Linked DNA regions of Homo sapiens: regions 1, 2, 4, 5 and 6 are each linked to region 3. The links are contacts of gene promoters, found by promoter capture Hi-C in blood cells and fetal thymus (Javierre and others, 2016). All regions are on one chromosome and are shown on one strand. Each heading gives the region's core, a stretch centred on a gene start or on the middle of the fragment in contact. The rest is flanking DNA. Distances are from core to core; before and after follow the strand shown.

Region 1 (4,441 bases), core at 1,814-4,313, 480 kb before region 3:
CCTTAAGCAGTCCTCCCACCTTGGACTCTCAAAGCACTGGGATTATAGGCATGAACCACTGCACCCAGCTACATATCATCTTTAAAACACACTCATCTTGGGCTAAAAGCTTATATGCACAATTTATCTCAAAACGTATGTATTTTATAGTCAGAATTTATAATTCAGAATAAAAGAATTTTTTATACTTCAGTTTCCTTGTTTGTGAAGTGGGGAAAATAATGCCAACTTCGGGGGTTGTTATGAGGATTAAAAGACTTATCATATGTATAGCTCTTGGGAAAGCACATAATGCTCAGTAAATGTGATGATACTGGTGATGATGATGGGGCTTTCAGATAACCACTTACACGGGCTCTCTTACCAATGGGTGGGAGGAGAGTCTAAGCAATGCTTAAGGCCTAAAACTTACACCACAAGCTTAATAATCTTCTTTCTTTCACAACTCTCATTTAGCCTTGCTTGTCAACAGCTATGAATGTCACTGTTCAAGAGAATTCATAAGGTTAAATAGAGCAGGGACATAAATTAACCTGAGAAATATAAGGTTTAAATTTGTACTGTGAAATGTAGTTTCAGCCACTTTAAGATTTCCACTGTTCTATTGAGGGATTGAGTTTTTGATGGCTTCTTTTGTTGTGTCCAGTGTAAACAATTCTCCTTAGATTTACTACCAGGTAAAAGACCCAAGCAAAATACTGAGAAAGGGGTGGTAGGGGAAGACAGAGATAGAGAAGGATGGAGGGAGGGAGGGAAGGAGAGAAAAGAAACAGAGGAGAGTAAAGAAGGGAAAGGAGGAGAAAAGAACAAAGGAGAGGAAAGGAAAAATTGACTTTTAAAATCCATAATCCAAACTTTTCTTTCAAGTCATAAAACCATATTGCCTGACATGGGCTCCTAAAGACCATGGAGCTGATGGTTCTGAGATAGAACTTCAACATCAACCTCATAAAATACACCAATATCTCTGTTTTAAAAATCTCTGTTGCTCTGAATCTGAAAGTGGCAAGTCCTAGTCCTGTGTAGTGAACTTACTGTAGTTTATCAGTCACACTGCTTCTCCTCCATTTTCATATAAAAAATATCAACGTACAAAACATATCTCCATTTCTCTACTGGGAAGTAGTGAAGACAAGTGAGATGCTGCCTTTGCAGGGTTCAATGAGCTCTGCCAAATACTACTGCAGATTTGTGTCATTTAATTTTACTTTTTAAAATGATTTTTTTTTCAAAAATCCTTTATTTTTCCATAAATTGGTGTCAGGTGGTTGAAAAACTGTAGCTAGAATATCTGGTGATAATAATTTTTTCTTCTATGCCAGGCAGTGCCCTTATATCTGGCAGTACAGCCTTCTTCATTCCTCTCTGAAGACCTGATTCCTTAAATCAGGCATCAGTATGTTTTTGGAGCACAGGATGGAGAAAGATTAAGTGTCAAATGGAATCACACAAGCTGAACAGCAAAGCAGACAGCAGGAGAAGAATCAAACAAGGTACATGCTGGGATGGAGAGGTCACCTTTTCTCCCTTTTCTCCTAGATCACCCTTCTCACCCCGTGGACCAGGGAAGCCCTGTAAGATAAAAAGCAAACCAAAAAGATCTATTGGTGTAATAGTGGCAAAATCATATAGAAACAAATATTTTAGGATTTTACATTTCTGAGCTTAAATATAACAAGAAATGGCTCACCAGTGTTAAGACTTAGATAATAAAGCAGTGCTTAGAAACATAAGTTTTCTAATGTCTCAATTATCTATACACAACAGGTTTCTTGCTTTTTCTTTTAAGAAATACAGAGTAGAAAGAATACCAGAATACTAGTTTGAATTCTGGCAAGTTCACTGATTTGTGCAGATTTGGGCAAATCACTTACCTCTCTGCACTTTAGTCCGTTGACTGTAAAATGGGGTTAATGATATCTACCAGACAGCTGTTGTGAATGTTAAATGTGATGATGTACTACAAAGTACCAGAATGATGCCTGCCCATAACAGGTGCTCATAAACAGTAACTAGTATTACTTTTGGTATTCTCATTATTCAGGTAATACAGGATGAGCAGTGATTGTGTCTAGAGGCATTTACTTTTGACATTCTCTATTTTCACAGAATCATATTAGCATAAGATATATAGGGACTAAATGTTAAAAGGAAAAAAATATTGCATAACTGCTTTGAGAAAAAAACATAATATATCATTCTGTAAGGATAGCATGTGAGAAGTATATTGATTTTATGCATATTTTTCATAAATAGGTCATGCTGATGTTAAGAGTACCCTCAATTTGGGAAAGTATTTTGAAGTGCCACTATCCACTACCAGTTATTAATTTTATACAAGATAATTGTGTTTTTTTGCTTTTCTGTTTTATCTCATGCAAACACTAGTGTATTTTATATTGCTGTTTACATGCACAGCAATATATGTTCTATGCATACCTATATGCACAGAAAAAAAAGAAGTATTCTTTTTGTTATCGATGATGGAGACCATCAACATCTATTATAATAGGATGATGTTTATTGTACTTATTACTTACATCAAGACCAGGCTCTCCATCTTTCCCCTGCCAAAGAACCATAGTAGCTACATTAGTGTTTCTAAGTTTTGTGAATAGATTATTGCTTTATTTAAGGCTGTCTGAACATGCAACACTAGTACTAGAACAACTACTTCAGAAATGTGAAAAAGATTCTCATTTGGATTAGTGACTGTTAGTGTTGCAGTTAAGGGTCATGAAAATTTTATATTATATATAGGGTTAAATAGATTAATATTTTGCTGATGTTTAAGCCTTGGTAGCTAAGTTATCAGTCCAGGAGTTAAATTAAAAGTAAAAAATACTGTTTAGTTGATTAGTGACTGTTAGTGTTGAAGTTAAGGGTCATGAAAATTTTATATGATATATTGGGTTAAATAGACTAATATTCTACTGATGTTTAAAGCTTGGTATCTAAGTTACCAGTCCAGGAGTTAAGTTAAAAGCAAAAATACTGTTTAGCTGATTTAAAAACATACCAGCACTAATAGAGGATGTGAATCAATGCTACTTTAATTTGATAACTTAGTAGTTAGCTCACAAATGAGTAAAGAATGTAGAAATACAGTTTTAATTTGGCTAGGATGTGCACACTGTGTACGAAGGATGTGAAGGCTGCAACTTAAAAGCTGTTTTTAAGTAAGCTTTGTAAATGAATAATCCCCAAATTTTTTTTAAAAGTTGTAAGACTGTTAGGCAAGAATGATAAATTCACTCCCATGGTGCAGATTATCATGGTGATGACCCTATTGTGTCATATTATGGATCCATCCAAAGTTCACGAGAGGTTACTTTGATTTCATCAATTAGATTTTGAAACCTATTTCAAAATCAGCATCTTTTTTTTGATTTAGCACTGAGGTAATCATGGTTTATGTTTATTATTTCAATTCATAAAGAGCATGTGTGAGATATGGAAAGGTTAAAACCCTTAATGCAACGTACGCTTCTACTGTCGTCCTACCCTATCTTAATGAATCAATTATAATTATTCCCAAGATGATATTTTTAAAGCAAACCAGAGGTCTCAATTTGAATTCTGTGTAATTAAGAATTTTCAGGCCGGGCGCAGTGTCTCACGCCTATAAATCGAGCACTTTGAGAGGCCGAGAAGGGCGGATCACTTGAGGTCAGGAGTTTGAGACCAGCGTGGCCAACATAGTGAAACCCCATCTCTACTAAAAATACAAAAATTAGCTGGGCATGGTGGCACACATCTGTAATCCCAGCTACTTGGGAGGCTGAGGCAGGAGAATCACTTGAACCCAGGAGGTGGAGGTTGCAGTGAGCCAAGATCATGCCACTGCACTCCAGCCTAGGCAAAAGAGCAAGACTCCATCTCAAATGATAATAATAATAAGAAGAGAAGAATTTTCAGAAGACAGAGCACTATCAGTGTTCTATGTTCTGCAGATCATTTGTCATCACGGTAATTTAGAAAGTCAGAAACATCAAGTCGTCATAAATATCAATGTAATTGGGGGAATAATTTTTACTAGCAAGAGTCATTTTAGTAAATAGTCTATAGGAACAGATAAAGTCTGAAGAAGGCTGTTTTCAGTGAAGCTTCCACAGCCATTTTTGGATCCAGTGATTTTCCAAGGAAGTGCCAGTTATGAGTGTCCAGTCAGATGATGTAGGGAGGGCATCTTCTGACAGTTAGGATCCTGTTCTCGAGTTAATACTTTATTCTAGAGACAGTCTCTGATCCTGTCAATCTCGTGAAGTGCCTGGATATGTGTCTGTACATGATGAGAGGGCAAGAGACTGAATATGACCTATTTGTGAAGGACATGGAAGTACTGAATTTATAGATAATGAGTGGATTGTTGTTTCTTCTCTAACATTAGTCTGCCCCACAAGCGAAGGGTTAACCGTGTCAGTGACTGGTCATCTATGCA
Region 2 (5,009 bases), core at 1,447-3,946, 320 kb before region 3:
TGTTGAATGTCTATACAGTGTGGCAACACTGTAAGCACTGGGGGAACATATATGTTTGGGAAAGGCTGATTTAGAAAGACATAGTCCCTGTCCTGGAGAAGCTAAATAGCCTAGTGTCTAAGGCAAACAGTTTCCACATAGTAGCATTAAGAAAAAACGACCTCTACAAAACTCAGCTACATCAAGGTCAACTGTTACTATAGACACCTCCCCAGCCTCCATATCCACCCCCTTCCCAGGTTTCTCTTTAAACTTTTGTTTGCTTTTGCCAGTGAGATTTCACAGGCCACATCTCCCATTGTACCAGTCCTCTAAAGGCACCTTGTTAGGTTACACAGCATCTTTAAGGACAAAGTTTTTGTGAAGTTATTTGACAGTGAGGAACAGAGACAACCCTTTTCCTCAAAGTCCAATTACTCATGCCAAATCCACGTATCAACTAGAGTTCTTTAGCCAACTTGCCCTGAGCAAGAATGCTTAATTTGCATCTACAATTGAGCAATAAATATTGCTGCCTCAAAAGATGGTGTTTCTGAGCAGACAGTATGGCGTCCTGGCACCTGCCAGCTTAGGACAGAAGCAAAGCCGAGGTCAACCTCCATGCACAGCTGCAGCGGCTGCTTCGGACGCTCCGGCCCCGACTTGTGCACTTGGATTAACAGCAGGTGTTTTCTTCTGCTCTGACTGAAATCCCACTCTTCCTTCCGAATTGGACCCTCTTCACTGAAAATATGGGTTAAATTTGCAGAACAAAGTGGGCTACCTTAGTAAACACAGATAGTATAATATTTCCAAAATTTAGAAGCCATACTTCTTTTCTAAGTCAAAAAATTACAAATGAAAGAAAGGTTTATTTGAACATTACCCTTTAAAATTAAAATTGGGGTATTAATTTTTTTTTATCTTTAGCATTAAAAAAGCTAACTAGTATTAACTAAAGGATAGGCAGCAATAAAAATTAATGGCTATTTGAATTACAAATTATTTTTCAATGGCACATTGCTGTTTCCAACTAAACCAAGCTCAACAATCTAATATTTAGTAGACATATTTATTGTTCAGGTGACAGTATCAATGGCTGATTGGTAACTATTTGAAGATAAAACTTTGTTGCTCCAACAAGGTTAGGGTCAATGGAAAGGAAAGATGGTAAAATTAGCAGTCATAGGGAAGTGAACAGTGAGTCACAGCTCTATAGAAGGCCCTTTTGGGGACTCTTGTCCTGGTTTGGTCTAGAATCCAATAGTCAGATCTTTTATAAGCCCCACTTTAATAAATAAGTAGGAATATTTGATATGATCTTTTGAATTAGTTGTATGTAATTAATCCTAAAGTTAATTACATTAATAAGTACTTAAGGGTGCTAATAAAGTTTTTATTTATTAGTGTTGTTAGTAATTAGAAGATTTATTTTAGGGCATTGTTGGAATGTTATTAACTTCCTACACCAAAGGATTTCTAAATTTCTGTGGCAAACTTAAAATTAGCCCCTGTTCAAACGGCTTTACATTCAGAGTTTGCAAGAACCACCCTTCTATTTGTAAAAAGCCTTTAATGTGGGTTTTGGCCTATACCAATTTAAGTCTCCTCAAATCTACTTCCGTTTAAGTAACTAAGGTTTTAGCTTTTTTCCTATGCTCTATTGTCTATTTCAATTAAATGATAAAACCAAACTAAAAACAAAGAGAGGCACAATGAATGACATTCAGGAAAATATTGAATTTCAATCTACATAACAGCAATGGAAATACAGCTGGAAAAGAGAGATATATTCATAGGCCTGGAGTAACCCAATCATGGTTTTTTATTTACTGGAACTGTAAATTATATTTGCTTTGAACTGGAAAAAACTAAGGCAGGAATAGTTTTTAAAAGATGACAATCATGAAAACAAAATTAAATTCTGCTTGGGGTAGAAAAAAGTGGAAAAGGAGCAAATGCTGGGAATTCTTGGCAGCCCGAGTGCCTGGAATAAGAATGGGGTTATGACTTCTATCCCAGGAAAGAATAGATAAGTTTATTTTTATTCATGAAATATAACAAAACCTTTTCTGATTAATCTATTCATTGCTGTAGAAATATGAGGACAAGCAAGCTTCATTCTCTAAGAATTTCTGGCTCACTATCAGCCAGGCGATGTACTCTGAGTCTGGAGGAGGGACATGTAAATATAATCACAATCAGTGGACTAAATACTGTGTTGTGGGAGTACAGAGCAGAAAGAGGTGGGAGAGCTGGAGTTGAAAAGATGCTATTGGAACTGGCTCTTGAAAGATATCCAGGAGTAAGGCGATGGAAGATGGAGGGAGGAGGAGCGAAGCAGGCCCGGGGGGAAGGGATGCACATGCCCAGTTGTGAGAAAATACCACTCTGTCAGAGAAAGGAGTTCAGGGTGGTAAGAACATGTGGGGAGTGGAGATAGAAAATAGCAGGAAAGAGATTTTAAAAGGCTGGTTAACCACACTCAGGCGTTTGAGCTGGATTCTGTCATCAATGTAACAAGGAGTGCGGAGATGAAGTGTGCTCTGTTTTGTGGAACTCTGAGAACACGGGGTGTTCGGGATTCTTAGGAAGTATTTGCCTTGGTCCAAAAGAGAGATGGTAAAGCTTTGAATTAAGGTTGTGCTAGTGGAGGCACAGGGAGAGGTCTAGATTCAGGAGACATTTCTCAAGTAAAAAACAACAAGACTGGTTAACTGATTGGACATGGGGGCCACTGACAGGTGTCAACATGTTTTAACAAGTCCTACTTATTTCAAGGTTCACAATTTAGTGTATTTGCAGACAAGCTTTGGCCTAAGCTGGTTCAACGTAGATGAACACAGCAGTTCCACAGCCAAGTGAATCAAATAGAGTTTAAATCTGGTTTTAGTGTTATATTTCAAATCCACAGTGTTGGCAGCGTCGGCTGGCCTAATTGGAAATAGCTGAGGAGAGAGAAAACATTCTCTATCACCACCATTGAGCAGAAGCAGCACAGAGGTAGTCATAACTGCCTCCCCTCAGAAGCCACAATTCTTCCGTGTTAACTTCTGAATAGAGGAAACCTTTATCACATTTTCTTTCCTCTACTTTTTCAACTGTAAACTGAATATGGAATTACTCTATTTTAAACTCCACAAGTTTCCTACTCTTTTAAAGATAAAGAAGATAGTCTGCTGTACAAGCCGTCCTCTAGGAGCACAGCACAACCTCAATGGTCACCGCACGTCTGATGTGGATCTTCTTTCTGATGTGCTCAGGCACAAGCAAACATCGATGTTCACAATCTCACAGGGAGGAAGCGGAATATCCCGTTTTTCTCTTGTACAACTAGGATAGAAGCTTCAATTCTACTGCCTACTCCCTAAATTGCATGATGAACTTGACTCATAGTGCCAATGACACACATACTCAATCCCCACACTTACAAGGAAACTGAATTTGGTACCACAGTTTCTTAACAGGTCTCTAAAACTGCAGAAAACCACATTGCAAATAGTATTAACAATTGAAAATCTAGTGTTTTACTTGAAAAATAGGGATCCTAGGTATTTAGGTGAGGATACATCCACCCTACTTCTGAAAAAAAGTGTTTTATGTAGTACAGGTTTACCTCCAACTAGAATGTGAACATGTGTTCTTTCGAGTATTTACTTTCACCTTAAACTCATACATAGTTTTCTGTTTTACTGGCACACATTTTTTAGAGACATTTCTTCTTCAAACCACTAAGTTGTTTTATAGACTTTCAACTTTGCAAATAACGAACTACAAATGTGAAAATTTTAAAGTTAAAATAACTTTTTCTGAAAAAACTGATGTAAAATCATAGGAGTTCCCGTATGTAAGTATAGATAAATTGTGTGTGTGGATACTTGTGTTTAATATCTTTTTAAATGCTTCAGTAAAAAAGTTAAAAAAAAGTGAAAGTAGAATTTGAGAGTTACTTTAAAATGCAGTACATGAAATAACATATCTTGGCGGTTAAGAGCTCAAGTTTTGGAGTCAAACCGATGCAGATTGAAATCCTGGCTACAATCACCTGTGTGATCTTTAAATGGTTAATTAATCTCCTTGTTCCGCAATTTCTTAATCTTAAAATGGGGAAAATAATGCCCACTGTTTGGCTAAAATAAAATATTATACATGAAGCAATTTATAAAATGCCTGCCCTACCAATAATATAATAGTAATTATCAAGTACACACTTAATATTTTAATTATCATAAACATAAAATAAAATTTATTTTTCAGATACTTGACTTGAGGATAAAGAAATACAATCAACTTCCTGGCTAGGCACGGTGGCTCATGCAGCACTTTAGGAGGCTGAGGCAGGCAGATCACAAGGTCAGGAGTTCGAGACCAGCCTGACCAACATGGTGAAACCTCGTCTCTACTAAAAATACAAAAATTAGCCAGGCGTGGTGGCATGCGCCTGTAATCCCAGCTACTCAGGAGGCTGAGGCAGGAGAATCGCTTGAACCGAAGAGGCGGAGCTTGCAGTGAGCTGAGATCGTGCCACTGCACTCCAGCCTGGGCAACAGAGTGAGACTCTGTCTCAAAAAACACACACACACAAACAAAACAAAAAAGAAATACAATTGATTTCCTAAACCAAAAGAAAATGCCTTGGGAAATGTCCTGGGGGGACGGTGGAAATATTTCGAGAATAGGAAGGTCTAATATAGTCTACCTCTATCGTTAAGGAACTATTACCAAACAAAACAAATAAACTTGGTCGTAGTTTTAACCACATTACTTTTATGATTAAAATAGACTAAACGTCAGGCCCTAGAACCACCTAGTCACCCGTAGCATAGAGTAGGTGCCCAACCAGTTCTTGCTGAATTGAAAGGCCCAGAAAGAAAAGAATGCAATAAAACTCTGTGTTCAAAACAGCAACATATAAAGCATTATAGAAGAACCAGATTCAATGTTGCTGCAGAAGAACCGTGTTTATTATAGTGTCAAACTCTGCTAAGCCAGGGAAGGGAATTATAGCTATAAACAGATTTATAGCTTCA
Region 3 (4,851 bases), core at 1,461-3,960:
CCCTGAAGCTACACAGGAAAAAAAGGTAAAAATATAAGAGCCTCTTCTTCAAAAGTCACTGAGAATGCAAGAGTTTGTAATGGGAAGCTCAAGATAAAGAAATCATTTTCTTTCAGTCATCATCTCTAGCTATAGGATAGGAGATGGAATCTTTTTAATAGAACAGAAACAGCAGGAAAGGAAGTGAAGGTGGTTTACTAACATAAACGTATGCCAAAGGGAATAAACCAAAACAAAAAAAAAAAAAAACTCTGCACTAACACAATAAGAGCGAGCCAGGAATTCAGAATCTAACAGTTCTACAGTCCTTTTCACTGTAGACATTAAGACAATTTAATTGAAGAATATTTTTCAATCTGTGAATCTAAGAAGTTTGTCCTTGTACATCACCTTGCCTATATTTTCTTTGGTGATTATATCCTTTGCTTTCCCATAACAGGCCTTGGTATGCTGCTTAAAATAATATTTGGGGCTTTATTTGCCATCCTTTTGAATGAGACATGTTGATTTTATTAAAGCAAGTTGGGTCTGCATTCTTTCTTTACTATTATTACAGGTAGACTTGACAGACACAGGACCTTTGTTTTAAAATGCTCTGCTCTGGAGGAAACCTTGTTAAATAAGTTCCATTTTACCTGCTGGGCAGTTACATTCTGAAGGTGCTTCTCTTGCGATTCTTATTTTAGCCATATGTTCATAGGATTTCTGTAGGAAAAGAAGAGTTATTAATAATCATCAGTAGCACTGTAGAGGGATGGAGTCTTTAGGGACTCTGGCCATACGCCTGATTTACCGGCATTTCATAACCTGCATAACTAACATTTACATATGTACTTGGACTCTAGTCAAGAAAGTAACCATGCCTAAGTCCTAAAAAAAGAAAATGACCACTGATAGGGTATCAAGATTGCTGGACTTGTATAACATCTTTCTCCATTCTTCTCTACCACCACTCTCTCCCTCAGCTCAAGCATATGCAGTCAATGTAAAAACCTAGCACTAAAATGTTGCAGTATTAGGTAAGCTGTGGCTTACCAATAACAGCCAATATTTTATACATGAAGGTCAACTGCTTTATTTATCATGCTAGGCTGCAACTACTGCCAAATAGGCTCCCGGCTAGGGTAAGGTTCCAGAAAACCCCCTTACTCTAGTCTAAAGGTACCCTTACACATAACATAGATTCCTCTCAACTCTCAATTCCAAGGGCTCTGCATTCATAAATACCCCGGCACTGCATCCTTTACCAAAAATAAAGCTACTTTAAAAAAAAAAAGTTTAAACTTTTAATATGAAAAGATTCAACGTGTGAAATTATTGATTTTAAATTATATATGACATTATTTTACATTTAAGAGTGATTACCTTTTTTATATATTAATAACATCTATGACCCTAACCATCTTACAACATGTAAAAGATTTAACAGATGCTATCTCTGCAAGAAATATTCTCTCCACAATTGGGTTTGACTTAGGACAACTAAAAAGAGATAAAATGCCCTTTCCGAACCCTTTTAGACCTTCCTATGTGTTTAACACGCAAACATTAAGAGAGAGTGAGGGAAGATTAGAGATAGGGATGGGGACATCAAGGGATGTGCACATATAAATATATGCTACAGTGAGCATAGATCCTTGGCCAACACATGCACGCGCGCGCACACACACAGCCACACCAAGTATGGGTACAGTAAGGGTAGCGGCTAGTCATGCACACAGAGTCACGCTTGTACAAGATGTTACCCACGTGCAAAATACCCCAGCCTCTCACACCTGAGCCAGAAGTCGCTCCACTTTCTCTTGCACCATAGTCTTGAGGTGATCCAGGGTATCAGGCAGCAGATGAATGGAAGGGGCCCCTTTGGCGGATTCGAGAGCGGCGATCCTCGCCTGGAGGTCGTTGGTTTTCACACCCAGGTACAGGCAAGACACCACGGCCACCACTGACAGGAGGGCCGCCAGGACGGCACACGGGGGCATGGTCCGGGCACAATGCTGTTCGGCAGGGGTCGGGTCCTCGGATCTGGGCTCCCGGCCCCCTCCTTTCCCTGCGTGCTTCTTCAGCAGCATCGTGGCGGGGTCGGCCGTCTCGGCTTCGCTTCCCACCCTCTACACCTCAAATAATCCTAAAAGGAAAGAAAAAGGTCGATTCCTCCAAAGTTCAGTCCCTGTGGCTGCACAACTAGTTGGTGGAGTCAAGCCCACGAGCGGATACGGACCCCTGCCTTGCTCAGCGTCCAGACCCGCAGGCGTGCACCATCCCCGCTTTCTTCTCTCCTCCCAGCTGGAAGTGAAAAGCACCCTCCGTCCGGGGACTGGGTGGCGGTGGGGTAAAAAGCAAGACGAAACCCACCCAGACAGCTCTTCCGACTCCCAGAGGACCGACACCTCTTTCGAGGGCCCCAACAGTGGCCGCTCAGGGTCCGAGGGCAACGGCCGAGGCGCCACGCGGGGCCGCGGCTCGCCCTGGCCACGGAGGACCGGACCTGTTGCGCCTCTGTGAGTTTGCCTTATTTCTACCTACTCGGTGTCTTTCGGCACGCCGACCTGTTTCCCACCTGCATTCAGTTCAAGGCAAAAAGGCTGTGAGAGCACGCTACAGCGCAGCGCGAAAGGGGCGACTAAGGTGGAGAAGAGAGAGGAAAACGAAATAAACCCAAGGAACCAATGCTACTCGCGAAGCCGAAGTCGCGGCTGCCCGAAGGATCTCCGCAGCCCCGCGTGCGCGATCCTTAAATACCCTTCGCGATGCTCGCGTGAGTGTGTGTGTGAGTGTGTGAGTGCGCGCGCGCTCCGAGCACGACGTCCCTCCCCCGACCCCCTCCCGGCGCCCGGCGTCCGGCCTGCCGCTCCCGCTGCTGCGCGCCCCCCTTCCGAAGGCAAAGCAGGAGCCCGCCTTATTATCATAATGTATTCACCTTGGCCCAGCCCGCGGGCCGGCCCGGGGAACCCCCAAGGGAGGCGGGAAGCTTGGGTGGGAGCGGGGCAGGAGGTCTGTTATTAGCATAATGTATGCAAATAGCTGGAGCGGCCACCGTGATTGGAGAGGAGCCTGGCGACCCCTCCCCCTGCGCGGAGTAACTTCAGCATCTCCGAGGGCCACCTCTCTGGCCTGGGCCGGGGCCGAAGCGGGGTCGGCTGCGCAAGAGGCGGCAACTTTGGCTTATACTGACTCAGCCCAGCGCCCCCTTTTTATCCCACATAAAAATGGAGAAATGGCCTCCGGGAGGAAGATGTGAAGCGGCACGCTCTATCTCTACTGATCTTCACTCAAAAGCAGCCGCAGGAGCTGTTGCTATCTCGCTGTGGTGCAGCGCTTTTCCCTCCTCCCTCACTTTCCCACATGCCCAGAGGCAAAGTGTCTGGCCGACGTCTGAGGTACATTTCCCCACTTCCCTTCTCTTCCCACTGCAGCCCTCAGATTGTCCAACGAGGGGAAGTTTTCCTTCCCCTCCCCCAGTTTCCTTGTCTTGACGGCACTGAGTCTCCTCCCAGCTCTGTATTCCTAGTCTGTACTAGGGTGCTAATGTGTTTTCCTGATTCCCTGTTTTGCGGGATTGGAAAAGGGAGTGTTGAGGTATACACATTTCTCAGGATTTAGGAAAGGAATGAAGAATGAAGTCAGTTTTTCCTTTTACCTGACTCTTAATGCTGTTCTCTCTGGATCAAATTACAAGGTCTCTAATGGGATTTTGGAAAGTTGGTAACAAGTAGCATTTGACATCTAATTGACTTTGGGGAAAACAGAAATCCCACCTCTTATTCCAAAGAGTTCCTTCTTATCTCCCTATAAAAAAAAAAACCATATATTTTTCCTATTCTCCTTAATTAAGCTAACCTGAAGTCGTTGCTTACTATTGTAAACAGTCAACAAAATACTTCACTAAGTTGGTCTTTCACATGTGTAAACGGATATTGCTAGGTGTGAAGCAAGGTAAGGAAATAACAGCATTAGAGGAAGAAAGAGACTAACATTGGAGGAAAACTCAATGAATTTGGCTATAAAGTCAAAACCATAATTCATTTGTATTACACAGTGGTTCTCAAAGGATGGTCCTAGACCAATAACATCAGCATCACCTGAGAACTTGGACATTAAAATTCTAGGTTCCTACCACAGATCTGAATCAGAAACTGCTACTACCACTACTGAAATAATAATTTTAAAAAAAACAGCAATCTGTGTTTTAACAAGCCCTCCAAATGATTTTGATATATACTACTAAAGTTTGAGAACCACTGGTATAATACTTTCCAAAATATTTTCAAATACTTTTTGTATTTGAACCTCATAACCCTGCGATGTGAGGATTTACTGTTCCTCTTTTAAATATAAACAACGTTTTTAAATAAATTTTAAAACAGATAAATTTCAAGTCACATTTAATTGTGATTAAACATGTTTCCAATAACAGGACCCAAATAATGGGTACAAATATTTTAATGTACAAACTCTTTCTGTAACCTCTAGCTGTTCCTTAGTCTCATTTGCAGGCTTTTCCTCTTTCATTTCTCTGAAAGTTGGTGCTCCTTGGGTCTCTGTCTATTCCATCTTCTCTGTATACTCTCTCCAGTAGAGTTCCCATTACACTGATGAGTCATAAATTCATATCAAAAGCCCAAACCTCTCTCCTGAACCTCAGATCCATATAGCCAGTTGCCTCTTTGTCATCTCCGTTTGGATGTCTCACTCTCATTTCCAATGTAACCTGCAGCTTACCTCCAAATTCTGTCTGCTTCCTCTGTTTCCCATCTCAGCCAATGGAGTTGCCATCCATCCAGTCTCCCCAAGCCAAAATACCCAGTTGCCGGCCCTGACTTCTCCCTTGCCCTCCTCTCCTCATCTATT
Region 4 (4,793 bases), core at 227-2,726, 400 kb before region 3:
AAGAGCCTGGGACACTTTCTCTGATGAACGCCTGGTATGGTGCTGATACTGCTCCTTTTCCCTCCTAATTTCTACACAAAAGAGTCACCCAGTGACTAATTAATTTCAGGTTAATTACCATGAACTGATTGGATGCTAAATAAATGTCCTAGTAATGTGTTATGAGGGATCTTTGATAGGCAGTTGATTTGCATGCTTTTTATAAAATTGCACAAAAATCCCTCTATTACAGAACAAAACAAACAAACCAACCTTCTTAGTAGGGAAACTGGCTCAGAGTAATTGCAAAGTGAAGGGTTTAACTGAGCTGTCCCCTCAGGAAACTGCCCTTTCCACCCACGTATTTTGCTCCCCCTCCATTAAATAAATGGTTTTTTTTCTTTACAATGTTGAAAAATACAGTTATAATTAAGAATTTTTCTTGATCTTTACATAAACTTCTTTTGGGATGAGAGGTTATAATACTGATTTGTCAGAAAGACCATATCACTTACAAAGAGCATGATGTAGTAACTTGGTAGTTTCCTACTCAGCATATTTTTCAAACACTATTAAAATAAGTAGCATGAGAACCAGGAAAATAAGTATCGTAATATGCAATCAGAGCCTAAAAATAATCAGGACAGGCCCAAGTAAGAAAAAGAGTCTAGGAGTAACTTAACACTCTGCTCTTCCTGTTTCTCTTTTTGGTTTTTATGGGAATTCTTTGTGGGCAACCTTCAGATAATTGCTGCAGGTAAACATCTGTATCCCTTTAACCTAGTGACATTAGAAGCAGTAGAGAGAGATGTGGGTGCTTGGAGAAGCATTAGAATGGCATTAGCAAGTAGGCAGACCAGATTTTGCAGGCCTAAGGATTTTTGAAACCCGTTTAAAAGCTTAAAAGCCTGACACAGAATGTTTAAATTTGCTCCCTTTCTCTTCATTATTAAATATTTGTTCTGAAGGTACATCGGCACCTTTCTCTTTATTTTTTAAAACTTTTTTTAACCCAAATTTTTGTCTATACATAAGAATCACACTATTTCCTCCTTCCACTAATTAACAGTTTGAAAAAACACAGGAGTCATATCTATATCTATATATCTATATATCTATATATCTATATACCTACCTACCTACCTATTAATCTACCCACCCACCCATCCATCCACCCATCCATTCATGCATATAGTTTAGTTTGAGTACTTCTTTGGTATGCTGGTGGTGGGGAGTAGGGAGAGAGAAATACAGGCAGAATCATTCTTACCTTTTCACCTTGTTCTCCAGGTTCTCCCTGAGCAAAAAGACAGAGATTGGGTGACATCAAATCATAAAACACCTAATTTTATTATCATTATTAAACAAAACAGATATTGAACTTACTAGGTAAATTATGCATGACATTTTCTATTTTGGCTACATGCAGTTGCTATATGAAAACAAATGATAAAATGAGTTTCCTGGAGAATTTGAGTATGAATATCAATTATCAAATGTAATCTTAATTTTTTGCTTTTATAGCACTAAATAAATGTTTTTGAAGATTATCATCCAGAAACTGGCTTTTGGAGCACTAAGGAGAATGATGGTGTGGCAATTCAATATCTTGAGAGGCTTCTTAGCCTACAATTTTTCATTCTGCTTAAACTCAGAGTTAATCAGGTGGACTAGCATGTTTTTCTGAAAATCCTTTTATTCAAAGTGTTCCCCGGTTCATAGATCATTTCCAGGGTCTAGGGTGCCAGGGTAGTTACCCAATCTGTCTTGCCCTAACATGATCATAAATAGTCCTAATCTTGAACCCCTTACAATGTCATAAACTCTCTTTAGCTTCTGGTAAAGAGCATGTTCCAGATCAGGTCTATTTTAGGAGGCACCTTAAGGAAAGACACTAGAATGGGGCAGAATTGAAGTGAGTTTAGGAATGATGTCCTTATTCAAAATGATGACCTGGATAGCATGAGGACTAAAATGCAAAATGGTGCCCTGAAGAGAATCTCATTTTCACTTTACCCAGGAAAGGACAGAGGTTGGAGCAGGAGAGTAGGAGTCCTAAAGTAAATCATATACATTATGAAAATAGTTTCCTATGAAAAGCTTGAGTGAATGTTGCCATAAGATCAGACTGCTTTGGAAAAAAAATGAAATAAGGCAATTATTGTATTTTTTTAAATTTATAACCCACTGCAGAAGTCAGTTTGGAAGCAAGACTCTTTTCTCTGGAACTCAACCTGACCCTTTGGCTTTCTGCATTTCTGGTCACCTTCACTGCTCAACACCCATCCTGATGGTCGCTAGGCAACACCAGAATAGCACTGTGAACATGCATTAAGCATTAACTCCCATTGTTTGGCTTTTTAGCATGGAGAAAGAGAGAGAAGAAGACAGGAAAACAGCTAGAGTCCCAGAAGGAATATTTTCTTTCCTCTCCTGCAGGACAAAGAACAGGTCTATAAATTTCAGGTCTGTCCTAGGCGCCTGTCAATAGCAAATGATCTGTAAAATCAGCTGACAGGCATCTGTGGGTACGAATACACACCAGCACAGCTGATGGGATTAAACATTAGTTTTGTACTTCAAGGGATGTTCACTCATCAAAGGATTTGGGATTTGGCTGCCTGCTTGATTTAAACTAAATTGTCCCCAATCTTTTTATATTTAACTGATTCAATTTTTTTAAGAAACAAAGAAGACTTGGAATAAAAAAATCTTCATTACATTTTTTCCCTATTTGGTAATTCAGACTACATCCATTTTTAAATTTTAAACATCTTTATTCTGCCTTCATCTGATTAACTGGTTATGTTGTGTAAGAGCTGGAGGTGGCCAAATCTTGGGGAAAAGCCATAGTGAATGTCATCTTTAGTAAGGCATGTAAATATAAAAATTTTAGGCAATATGGACATGACCTATGTTTTTATATACCCACTAAGTGGTAAAATGACAACAGCCATATTGGAAACATAGGCCTATTCATGTTATTTAAGTATCTCAGAATAAAGATGTTAGATGATCACATCCCATTTATTTTTCTGCATTTAATACTAATGAGAATCACAAATATAATTAATTCATTAGTAACAAAGTTCTATACTATAGCATATTATACTATTCACAAAATACCCATGTAAGTGCAACTGGTGAGATTGTTAAAAATTGTATTAAATAATAGCTTACAATTTCCTGACAATTCGTGTGTCAAATGATTCTGCTTGGCTTTATTTGTACTAACCTTAGGTCCTGGTATTCCATTCTGTCCTACTGCTCCAGGCAACCCGGGCTCACCCTCAAAATAGAAAAATAGATACTACTAAGTAAAATAGACAAAATCAATACATTACATGGATCATTAGAGGAGACAGCCATCTAATAATTCTCTAGAAATAGATAAAGAATAAGTGACTATTAGTTTAAATTCAAGTTAGCTTCCATGGTCCAAAACGCTGCATGTAATGGAGCAAGGATACAATGGGGTTAATTTCCTTTGTTCAGTCTTCTCATCATTAAGAAAACTGAGGCAACTTACCAGTGGAAATTAACATCTAGCATGTTGCTGGGTACATTGTGAACATCAAATAAATATTTTCTGAATGAGTAAAAGACAACTGAAAATATAAGACTCTCCTGGCAAAAAACTTTTAAGTGATTCATCAGCTCAGAAAAAGAAAGAATAAATCATTCTGTTCTCACATTAGACTTAAATGAACATTTACAAACCTAAATCTTGAAGAACATATACATCTTTGAACACCTACTTAATTCATTTAGACACATTTGACACAAAAGTAAACACTAAAAACAGATTTGGTTTTTCTTTCCAATTTCATTGTAAAAATAAGTAGAATAAAACATTCAGACTTATGGATCTCATTGCCATATTGAATGATAGGCTTTTGGGCAAAAGATGATGGCTATTAGGCTAGAAAAATTTCCTATTTCAGAAAGATGATGATGTATACCAGTCTTTCAAGACTCTGAACCAGCAATTGTTTTCCAAAGAGACAAAGCTCCCTGAAGTGCCCAGAAACAAGGAAAAGATACTTTGGGCCTTTATGCTTCCATGTGGCTCAAACTTACAGCAATTAGAATTCTGTTCTCATTTTAAAACATTCTGAAAGCCCTTCACTGTGTGCCCCAATTACTGGACAACTTTCTTCTTTCCATTGAGGCTAGTAAAGTTGCTCTTTGGTTGATTTTTAAAAAATAGACTTTATTGTTAGAGCAGTTTTAGGTTCACTGCAAACTTAATTGATTTTTGAGAATGTTTTCTAAGTCACCTGGAGGGCAAGAATTCTGTCACTTTTATATTTGTGTTCTCAGCTTCAAAAACATATATATTAATAATAATAGTAACATTTCTTAAGTGCCAGGATCTTTATATTCATTGACTCAATTCTCATAAATTCCTATGAGGTAGGTACTATTTTTATCTCTATTTTACAGGCAAAGAAACTAAGGCACAGAGAAGTTAAGTAATTTGTCCAGATTTACACAACTACAGTCAGGACTTGAACCTTCATGGTTTAAGAAGGTATGCTCTTAACACCATGTTACACTGATAAGTGAACGAATGTATCTAGGAATTGGGAGAGAGTAGATGATGAATATTTCTATCTTAATTATTATTTGGTTTATAGTCCCACTTATAAATGACTGTCAGAATGTGTAGAAACCTGAATTAAATATAACCTACATAGAGATGATTTTTAAATATCTACCAGATAAACTAAGCAATGTGAAGCTTGTAGTGTCTAGAATAGCGAAAAGTATTTTACTATTATAGTGGATTATTAAAATTGCTAAAGTCTTAA
Region 5 (4,789 bases), core at 1,174-3,673, 460 kb before region 3:
CCATTCCACAGAGAGTAGTACAAAATACAAGCTGGCTGTTTAGAGGGATGTGTTCATGTTCTCTCTAGCAGCATGCTCATAAATAAGCAATTACATTTCAGAAAGAAGGGAAACTTACCATGGGGCCAGGTGGGCCATGGGGACCTGGTGGGCCTGGTGGGCCTATGATCTGTATGTCCAAAAAATAAAAATGTATTTGGTTACTTCATTTAGATAAGGCAGTTCAACTTGAATCTTGTGCTGGGGTTCTGCTAAGGCCATTAGTAGTTGGAGAGGAAGAAAGATACTAGAATAAGTGATGTGTTTGATTCTCTAGATGTAGAAATTCCCTTATGAGAATTAAAAAAAAAAATTCCAAAAAAAGTTCTCCAAAAGCCAGAATAAATGAAAACTATGTTAAAAGAAAAGGAAGCAACTAATTACCAAGAAATGCTATAATGTCACTACTATCAAACTCAAATATTTCACTAAGCATAAGCAGGGCTCTGGAGAAACAAACAAGTATGTTCTATATTCACAAAGATCTACCCATTGTTAGGAGAAAACCATTGATTTTTTTCCTCAGGATTAGACAGTCCTCTGAAAACCTGCTTCTACCTCAGACCTCTGATATACTTTGTGTATCACTGTGCAGGGCTGACGGATGTTTCTTCTACAGTTTGACAAACCAAGAGGTTTGAGGTCTGTCTACTGTTGTGCAGCCATCTGGCAGAGGTGGAATAGGTAAGTAACATGTCAGTGTGTGAGGAGGTTCAGGAACAATGGAAGTTCAGCCACCATGGACTTACAGAAGGACCCTGTGGACCCGGCATTCCAGAATCTCCTTTTTCTCCTTTCATTCCATTGGCTCCCTATAAATAACCATTAAGCAGAGTTAAGCAGGTAAAGTTATTTCCAGTGTAAGAGACAACTGAATTTTCTCCCCAAACCCATTGTTCTCTTGACATTTTATAATATTATGCACTTGCTACATAAAAGAAGGATTTATCTCCTTGAATTCTAGCTTAAAATAGCAAGCTTATTAAAATCCTTAGGATTATGGGTGATATGTAGAATAAAATATAAAGTAAATGAAAACTAGTTTGAGCTTGATTGGTTAAAGACCTACAGTGTTAAATACATTGAGTTATAAATGTTATATCTTTTATGGTGGTGCGCAATTTAAACAGCAAAGGTAAGGCTTTTAACTTAGTTTTTACTGACATTTATATACTTCCTTGTTTTACAGAAAAGTCTAAGGCAGTGGAGTTTACTGCATTTTTTAAAACAATTTTTACATTTTCTCCTCCAAATTCTCAGTTAGAATTACGGGGAAAACCATAAAACACCATCCCATAGTATCATACACACAGAGGACACTTTCCAGAGTAATTTGTTTTTTAATTCTCCTATATTTTTTGGCTCATTTCTTTATTATGGTTTATTTTACAATAACCAGTTACCACCATCTTATGCATACTAAATTAAAGTGGCCAACTATGTTTATTTTATTATCTTCTAGGGAAAACAATTCAGGAAAACATGAAGGCTTCCTTTATAATTCATTTGGTTACATGCCTTACAATTTGAGTTCCCTAGAGTAATTAACCAATAATACCTCAAATATTTCAAAATAAAAATATGAGATGAACCACTAGATGAGATTGCAGCTAATAATATAACTCTTTTCTGATTGTTTAATTTATCTTAATAAGAACATAATATAAAAAGTATAAACAAACAGAAAGTATAAACATACCGGTAATCCAGGAAGTCCAATTCCTCCTTTTTCACCTGTCATACCTGGGTCCCCCATGTCTCCCTTTGAGCCTTTGAGTCCCTAAAAATGATAGACAAGGTTGGCATGTAAGCAGCATAATGACCCCCGATAATTACATCCTAGGGAAAACAGAATTCCGATCAATTTCGTTAATAGGTGGGTTCAATGTTGAGATGATTCTGATTTTTGTTTTTAGGTAGAGTTATTTCTTACAGCAACCTTCTACATGCAATCAGTACTATTTCTCCTTGTAATGAAATAGATTAAGTTCTATTAGGCCATGTAAGCATAAAAAACATGAACTTAGGTTTTGACATAATTTCTCCTGATTTTGTATTTTTACCTGGCAGCTAATTCTATCTCACCAGACCTGAAAACAACTTAATAGACTTAATTCTCAACAATACAGGATGTATTTTGAACTGGGACCTAGTGTTATATAATAACAAATGTCCAAATTTCTCTCATCTCTACCCACTATACTCCCCTCCCTCCTAACTGCAGGCAGAAGTTCCAGTCACAATGAGTTTTCAATGGTCCAGTCTACAGACTGATAAATCACTGGATCATTTACCACACACTAACGCTCAATCAATGCTTAAAAGTATGACAACCTCTTCACAGTGTTCTTATTTTGTTCTCATGATGTCTCTATGAGATGAGTCAGAATGGTATTTTTATTCTCCTTTACAGTGAGGAAATAGATAAATATGCATTTTGAATGTTAACAAATCTGAATTTTGTAATTTTTTTTTTTTTTTTTTGAGTTGGAGTCTCACTCTGTCACCCAGGCTGGACCGCAATGGTGCGATCTTGGCTCACTGCAACCTCCGGCTCCTGGGTTCAAGCCATTCTCCTGCTTCAGCCTCCCAAGTAGCTGGGGCTACAAGCATGCGCCACCATGCCCAGGTAATTTTTGTATTTTTAGTAGAGACGAGGTTTCACCATGTTGGCCCGGCTGGTCTCAAACTCCTGACCTCAGGTGATCTGCTCACCTTGGCCTCCCAAAGTGCTGGGATTACAGGCGTGAGCCACCATGCCTGGCCTGAATTTTATAATATTAATATTGACATTAATTTATATTTTTAAGCATTTTCATCCTAGGAAACTCACTTCAATATACTAATGGCTCATTCTTCAGTAGAGATGATCATAGTTATTATGGTAAGGGGCTTCTAGGCTGCACAAACCTGTTTATCTTTTTTTTATTAAAACCGATGGAGAAAAATTATTTATGGAAAGGAACTTTTCTTGTTAACTGTTCCTATTTAATAGCATTCAGAATTACCCAATGGGTAAGTAGGTGCCTGAATGAATAGATGGATCTTACTGATTAATAAGACCTGGATTATTTTTAGGGATCTAGTGATGGCAGCAGGACGGCAACCCAATGTACTTAGTGATAGAAGAAGACCTTGCAAAGCCTACAGAAGAAAAAAAAAAGCTAGCTACTATATCTGTAGGAGCCATAATGTATATCATTATGCATGTCAAATTAATTGCTTATAATGACCAATGGTCAGAGAAGTAACATAGACAGACTTTAAAATTCTAAGTGATCTATGATATAGCAAATCATCTAAGGTATCTATGTTTCTGTTTACCACATGTTCATTTAATATGGCATTATTATTATTTCAGCATATAACTCTGATAGTAAAAATAATCCTAAACCTAATTTTCCTATCTAATACTTTCTTCTGAGGAGTATATGTGCACTAACTGTATTAAGAATCCTTTTGATTTCTTATGATTTTCCTGATTTTAGCCATTTCTTGGGTAAATAATGGAAATCAAGAAAACACTAAAGATCTTGAAATTAACCCTTTTGATTCCATTCCAAATTCTGAATACTGTCCACGTTCTCCAACTCAGATTCTTTTAGAGCAGGGGTCGCCAAACCATGGCTCACAGGCCAAATTCATCCCAGGGATTGTTTTTGTACAGAGTGAATTTAAAAAAAAATTGTTGAGGTGTTAACCAAAAATAAATAAATAAAAAGGAAACTTCAACACAGATTGTATGTGGCCTGTAAAGCCTAAAGCATTTACTATCTGGACCTTTATTAACAAAGCTTGCCGACTTCTGTTTTAGAGGGAACCCTCAGAGATACACTACCATACTCTGTCAAGCTACAAGTTCCCTGCTTGTTTCTGTATTTTCTAAGGATCTAGGGATTAGGTGTCATCTTTATTTGGGAAAAGAAAACATTGTCTAAAAAAGGCATATAGGCAAGATTTAGTTTTGTGGAAACTATGGTCACTGATTTTAATCTTGACATATTTGTATTCACTGACAAAAATTAGGCTAGTTTTACTAACTTGGTAATGATTTTACAAGTCTATTAAAAATTTGCAGGGGAGTCACTGGTAGGTTGATATAAAGTATTAAGAACAAAACTGAAGTATCATATGGCTTAGATGTTTTTGCGAAGAAAACTAATGTCTGCTTTTTAGAGTCAATGAAGTCTCTAGAACAAATGGTTAAAAGAAAGAGGGTATCAAATATCAATGCTCATGACATTTTGGCTTCAAACCTACAATAAAAGTAGTAATCAAGAATGATGCTTTAAATAATAGTATACATCTTTGAAAATTACCTGCTCTCCATCCATTCCTGGGATTCCTGGAGATCCCTGCTCTCCCTATTAAGATAAAAATAGATGACTTGCCTCCATTCTCATTGGTAACATACTGCACTACATAAAAAAACGATGCTAGTTTGTTAACACCACAATTTGACTTTCAGCAAATGCATCATAACCCGAGAATATTCTATTATAGCACATATCTAAACTAAGGGAAGTAATAATCTTTCTTCAAGATTATGTATAGTATTTATATGTAGCTAAGATCCAATGCTTTTAGTGTTTTTATTTTTTCTCCATGTGAGATGCAGGCTAAAAAAGAGTGGTCAAGGAAAACTGATAGACACAATTTGATAGCTGACCATATCCTATAGCAACAACCTATCTGCCTCAGTTAGTTAATTTTTTTCTCCATACAACCTCTGTATGATTTCTCTCACTTT
Region 6 (4,804 bases), core at 1,525-4,024, 490 kb before region 3:
TTTCTTTTTTCTTTTTTTTTTTTTTTTTGTGAAACAGGGTCTCCCTCCATCACCCAGGCTGGAGTGCAGTGGCACCATCTTGACTCACTACAGCCTTGACCTCCCAGGCTCGTGATCGTCCTGCCTCAGCCTCCCAAGTAGCTGTGACTACAGGTGTGTACAAGAATGACTGAATAATTTCTTCTTGCATTTTTTTAGAGACAGGGTTTTGCCATGTTGCTTGGGCTGGTCTCAAATTTCTGGGCTCAAGCAATCTGCCTGCCTCAGCCTCCCAAAGTGCTGGCATTACAGGAGTGAGCCACCGTGCCTGGCAATAGTGTTCTTTATAAATGTTCTTTTAATTTTTCTTAAATATTATGGGAAGTGAAATAAAAGGATGAATTTATAAATAAAGCCATATTTACTTTCTTTGAATCACCATCCTCAGAGTGATAGAGGGTATGAGATAGTTAATAGTTGCAGAGAGGCCAGTTAGAAGGCTTCTCCAAAAGTTTGAAAAATGAGGAAAGTCTAAACTGAGACCATGGGATGAGGATGGAGAGAAGGGGTAGATCTGATGGAGATTTAGGAGGCAGAATTGAAGGAACTTGGTGAATTAGATGCTGTGTGTATGAGGGGATGGGTGGGTGATGGAGGTGGGTAGTGTCCATAATGATTCTGAGGCCTCCATCTTGTTTGCCTGGATGGCAGGTGGGGAAGGTGGCACCATTTATTATGATATGGAAGTCTGTAAGAGAACCAGGGGTGAAGTGGAAGATGATAAGCACCTGTGAGACATCCAGGTGGACATGCCTTTATCAGTTGGTCTGAAAGTCGGAAGGAAGTCTGATGAAGACAGAAACGTGGTCTTTGTGAGAAAGAATGAGCTCTTTTGGAGAGAGGGAATGCGTGGCTGAGAAGAGCAAAAGCAGAAGAGAGAATGAAAGTGAGAGCCCTGAGAATCATCATTTAACGATCAGGTAGAGAAGGAAGAGCTGGCAGAGGAAAATAAGGAAGAATAGTAGGATTAAATGACAAGAATATAAAGACTTGAGAACTAAAAATAGTGCTGAAGAGGGTGGCAGTGGTCAACTGCATCTAATGCTGCTGGCAAGATCAACAAAGATGAGCGCTAGGTCTAGCCACTCCACAGTGTGTATATACTTCAAAACATCGTATTTTGCACAACAAATACACACAATTTTATCTTTCAATTACAAAAGCAAAAATATAAGAAAGGTGAGCATTGGGAAGTACTCTTTTATTTGGGACTTGTAAATAATTGGTGTCTTTGTGGAGGCATTTATTCATTCATCATTCATTAAATACATATATATATATATGTAATTTTATTTTATTTATTTATTTATTTTTTTTTTTTTTTAGACTGAGTCTCGTTCTGTCCCCTAGGTGCAATCTGGGCTCACTGCAACCTCCGCCTCCCAGGTTCAAGTGATTCTCCTGCCTCAGCCTCCTGAATAGCTGGGATTACAGGTGCCTGCCACCACACCCAGCTAATTTTTTGTATTTTCAGTAGAGATGGGGTTTCACCATGTTGTCCAGGATGGTTTTGATCTCCTAACCTCGTGATCCACCCGCCTCAGCCTCCCAAAGTGCTGGGATTACAGACGTGAGCCACTGCACCCAGCCCATTAAATATTTATTAAGTGATTATTATACGCTACATTCTAATCATATACTGATGACTAATTTGATGGGAGGATGGTAAGAGGCAACTAAACGTAAGGTAACTTAATTCATCAAGATGGGAAATAGTGGAGGAAAATTAGGAGGGGAGGCCGGGCGCAGTGGCTCACGCCTGTAATCCCAGCACTTTGGGAGGCTGAGGCAGGTGGATCACGAGGTCAGGAGTTTGAGACCAGCCTGACCAACATGATGAAACCTTGTCTCTACTAAAAATACAAACATTAGCCTGTGTGGTGGCGGGCACGTGTAGTCCCAGCTACTCAGGAGGCTGAGGCAAGAGAAACGCTTGAACCCAGGAGGTGGAGCTTGAAGTGAGCCGAGATCGGTCCACTGCACTCCAGCCTGGGCAACACAGCGAGACTCCGTCTCAAAAAAAAAAAAAACAACAACAACAAACCAGAAAGTTCTAGTTTTAGAAAATCCCTATAGCTAGGTATGTTTACCAGGTTAAATGGTGGGGTTACAATATTGTAGAAGAGTAGAATAAAATTCTTTATGAATAATGTTTAAATCAAAGAAAAGAGGCCAAGGTTTTCATGAACATCAATAAAGCTTTATAACAATACAATTCATTATCATTGTTTGGATTAATATTGTAATAATTACACACTTTTTACATTATGAAAATAAGTCATAAATAGTGTAAAAATAATTCTGAAGATCAACTTCTCACAAACTAGGAACCCTGAAAACAAATTTAAAAAGCAAATAAAAACAAACTGGAAACTGAACACAATGCAATTATCTCCAAACCGCAAATCAAAAATCTTATGCATCTTTTGATACAGTAATGTCAGCTGGAGAAATTACAAGGAAATTAAAATAAAAATTGAACAGGGAGAATTCAATCTTTCAATTATTTACACTACTGAGATAAACAGGTTTGTGCCATATTTACAGTGATAAGACACAACACATTCTTAGAATAATCAATTGTATGAGACTGGCCCACAAACATTTAAAAAAATATGCAGTGTAATGCTTGCCAAAATATTTTTTTTTGCATATTTCACTTATTTTGTATTTATGTGAGTTTTTGGCAATATAAAAATAGCTGCACATAGAGATGAACTTTAAAATGTAAAAAATACAAATAAAAATATAATATTTTCTAAAGAAAAATCAGATACATACATCTTTTAAAATGTTATTAAGTTGAATGAAACATTTACAACAGTATAAAGAATATTCACATAAATGTCAACAGTATGTAAGACATTCTTTTGTGAATCCAATTCGTTAATATTTCTGAGATAGGTAAGAATATCAACTACATTTTGAGAGATGTTGGTACTTTCTTTGTTAAGTTGTTAATAAATCACACATAACGGTTTAGGTTGAAAAAGTCTTCTTATGCCCAAAAGGACGGTTCTTTCAATAAGCAGCATAGGCAATTTTATACATTTAAATATTTTGAAATGAAAAAAGTCATTAAAGTGTTTATTAGTACGGGGTTAGCAAAAACCAAACTCCACTAAAAATTTAAGTTAGAGGAGTGTCTCTGCTGTGTCAATTTTATATTGGCAACAAATCTAGCCAATATAAAGATATCCCAAGAAAAATGGGAAGAAGTAGGGACTGACAGTCCTCCTAGCCTAAAACAATTTAGCATAATCATAATTGGTCAAGCTTGTTAATTCCACTAGGGATGTATGATTTTAATAGCCAGAATCACATGTGATTGTTCTTACTTATTATTTTTAGAAAGATAAGATAGGGTTCCTAAGGACTTAACTTCCAAGAGATAGCAGGAGCTCTTGTTTTTACAAATTAGAAAATCCTATTTTTTTGTAGTGTGAAATATTAATATAATTTGATTATTAGGAAGTAAGAAAAAACAAGATTTCAAATATTAGCATCTGTATGTTGCTTATGATCACTTATTAGAAGATGTTAAAACACCACCAAAGTATAGCCCTACTCTGGGTAAGACAATATATAGTGGGGAAAGAAAGGATAACAAATGATGTTAACTTTTCATGCTTCAATAGTAACATTAAAAAAAAAAACCCTTGGAAATTAAGCACATTTCCTAAGTGAGAAAAATATAACATATCAAAGACAATTTTTCCATTGGTACTGACATGCTGATTTGACAATTTTCTAAACTAGCACATATGTCTATATAGATAGATAGTTAGACAAAGGACATGTAGTATAAACTAGTTGATGTGTAAGTTCTTGCTGTCCCATCAGAACATCGTATGCACAGAATGTAAATTCAAAAACAAGACCTTTCTTCTGGTAGGAATTAAAGATATTCTAATGTCCTCTATAAAATCACATGAGAAAAAAAAATCCTCCAAGACTGCTTTTGCTAATGAAAAACAAAAACTGAAAGAAAAAATTAGGTATATTTGTGCACTAGGTACTCTATACGGTGTGTGCAGACTTCTCTGATGCTAGTTTTGTCATGTTTCATCAAATCATATAAACTAAAAGACGAGTGAATGAAAAAGATGAGACACATGAAAGTAGATAAAGGCATATGATGTATGAAATGAATATGAAATAGGAGGATCCATGATCCGAGTAAACACACATCATCTATTGGTACACTGTTTTGTTTTACATTAAGAAAGCCTGGTCATTGGACCATAATTATAGCAAATTCATGAACTTTAAAAATAAAATAACACACTAATGATTTAGGAATGCTATTAAACAGGGAAATAAAATTATCCATAGTAGTTGTATTGTCCATAGAGAAAAAGGAAAAGAGATACATTAGCACCAACCAACATAAATGAAAAACAATTTTAAATCTAAAACACATATCAATTTGCTATCCTTCAATGTTTTATTAGAAATAGAAACTGACCTTGCCTTATTTCCAATGTGTCTTTCATGTATATTTTCTCAACCCTCTATCCAATAACACACATTAAAGAAATCTTTAAGGAAAGTATATTATCTATCAACACATATCAACAAACACAATTCTTTCATTCACTTAGAAATTATTTAAGAATTCTCTATATGACAAAATGGATGCTTGAAAACATTGTAGTAACCAAAAGTTAAAGATTATCCATCATGGTTAAGACCTAGCAATTCCACTGAACAAGGAGGAGTATTTCCATCCCTTTGTTTTTCCCAAGGAAATAAATGTAATGAA

Evidence for each region. The method cuts DNA at HindIII sites, captures the fragments that hold promoters and counts their contacts. A CHiCAGO score of 5 or more calls a contact.
Region 1: a fragment that was not itself captured here is called in contact with the fragment with the promoter of COL25A1 in region 3 in 7 of 17 cell types (megakaryocytes, endothelial precursors, fetal thymus and 4 more); the score reaches 14.2 in megakaryocytes.
Region 2: a fragment that was not itself captured here is called in contact with the fragment with the promoter of COL25A1 in region 3 in 1 of 17 cell types (megakaryocytes); the score reaches 5.6 in megakaryocytes.
Region 4: a contact is called between a fragment that was not itself captured here and the fragment with the promoter of COL25A1 in region 3, in 1 of 17 cell types (megakaryocytes). The highest score is 5.3, in megakaryocytes.
Region 5: a fragment that was not itself captured here is called in contact with the fragment with the promoter of COL25A1 in region 3 in 7 of 17 cell types (endothelial precursors, megakaryocytes, M1 macrophages and 4 more); the score reaches 12.6 in endothelial precursors.
Region 6: a fragment that was not itself captured here is called in contact with the fragment with the promoter of COL25A1 in region 3 in 1 of 17 cell types (erythroblasts); the score reaches 6.4 in erythroblasts.

Annotation. Positions count from the first base shown.
Region 1 is chr4:108,822,656-108,827,096 of GRCh38, forward strand. COL25A1 (collagen type XXV alpha 1 chain) reads right to left here. Exons shown (of 38, transcript NM_198721.4): 34 at 2,541-2,567; 35 at 1,519-1,572. Among named protein-coding and RNA genes, the nearest start is that of ETNPPL, 62 kb to the left of the region's middle. The HindIII fragment of the contact is 238 bases long and covers 2,945-3,182 here.
Region 2 is chr4:108,977,649-108,982,657 of GRCh38, forward strand. The region is part of intron 6 of COL25A1 (collagen type XXV alpha 1 chain); the gene reads right to left. Among named protein-coding and RNA genes, the nearest start is that of ETNPPL, 220 kb to the left of the region's middle. The HindIII fragment of the contact is 182 bases long and covers 2,606-2,787 here.
Region 3 is chr4:109,299,948-109,304,798 of GRCh38, forward strand. COL25A1 (collagen type XXV alpha 1 chain) reads right to left here and starts at 2,711. Exons shown (of 38, transcript NM_198721.4): 1 at 2,222-2,711; 2 at 1,776-2,128; 3 at 636-705. The coding sequence starts at 2,072. COL25A1-DT (COL25A1 divergent transcript) reads left to right here and starts at 3,088. Exons shown (of 3, transcript NR_160939.1): 1 at 3,088-3,380. RefSeq lists an enhancer at 2,783-3,565. The HindIII fragment of the contact is 6,447 bases long and covers 1-2,969 here.
Region 4 is chr4:108,897,905-108,902,697 of GRCh38, forward strand. It overlaps COL25A1 (collagen type XXV alpha 1 chain), which reads right to left. Exons shown (of 38, transcript NM_198721.4): 14 at 3,215-3,268; 15 at 1,250-1,276. Among named protein-coding and RNA genes, the nearest start is that of ETNPPL, 140 kb to the left of the region's middle. The HindIII fragment of the contact is 1,201 bases long and covers 877-2,077 here.
Region 5 is chr4:108,844,401-108,849,189 of GRCh38, forward strand. COL25A1 (collagen type XXV alpha 1 chain) reads right to left here. Exons shown (of 38, transcript NM_198721.4): 27 at 4,359-4,403; 28 at 1,739-1,819; 29 at 789-851; 30 at 119-169. Among named protein-coding and RNA genes, the nearest start is that of ETNPPL, 84 kb to the left of the region's middle. The HindIII fragment of the contact is 2,816 bases long and covers 1,016-3,831 here.
Region 6 is chr4:108,806,508-108,811,311 of GRCh38, forward strand. It overlaps COL25A1 (collagen type XXV alpha 1 chain), which reads right to left. Exons shown (of 38, transcript NM_198721.4): 38 at 2,218-4,804. Among named protein-coding and RNA genes, the nearest start is that of ETNPPL, 46 kb to the left of the region's middle. The HindIII fragment of the contact is 1,077 bases long and covers 2,237-3,313 here.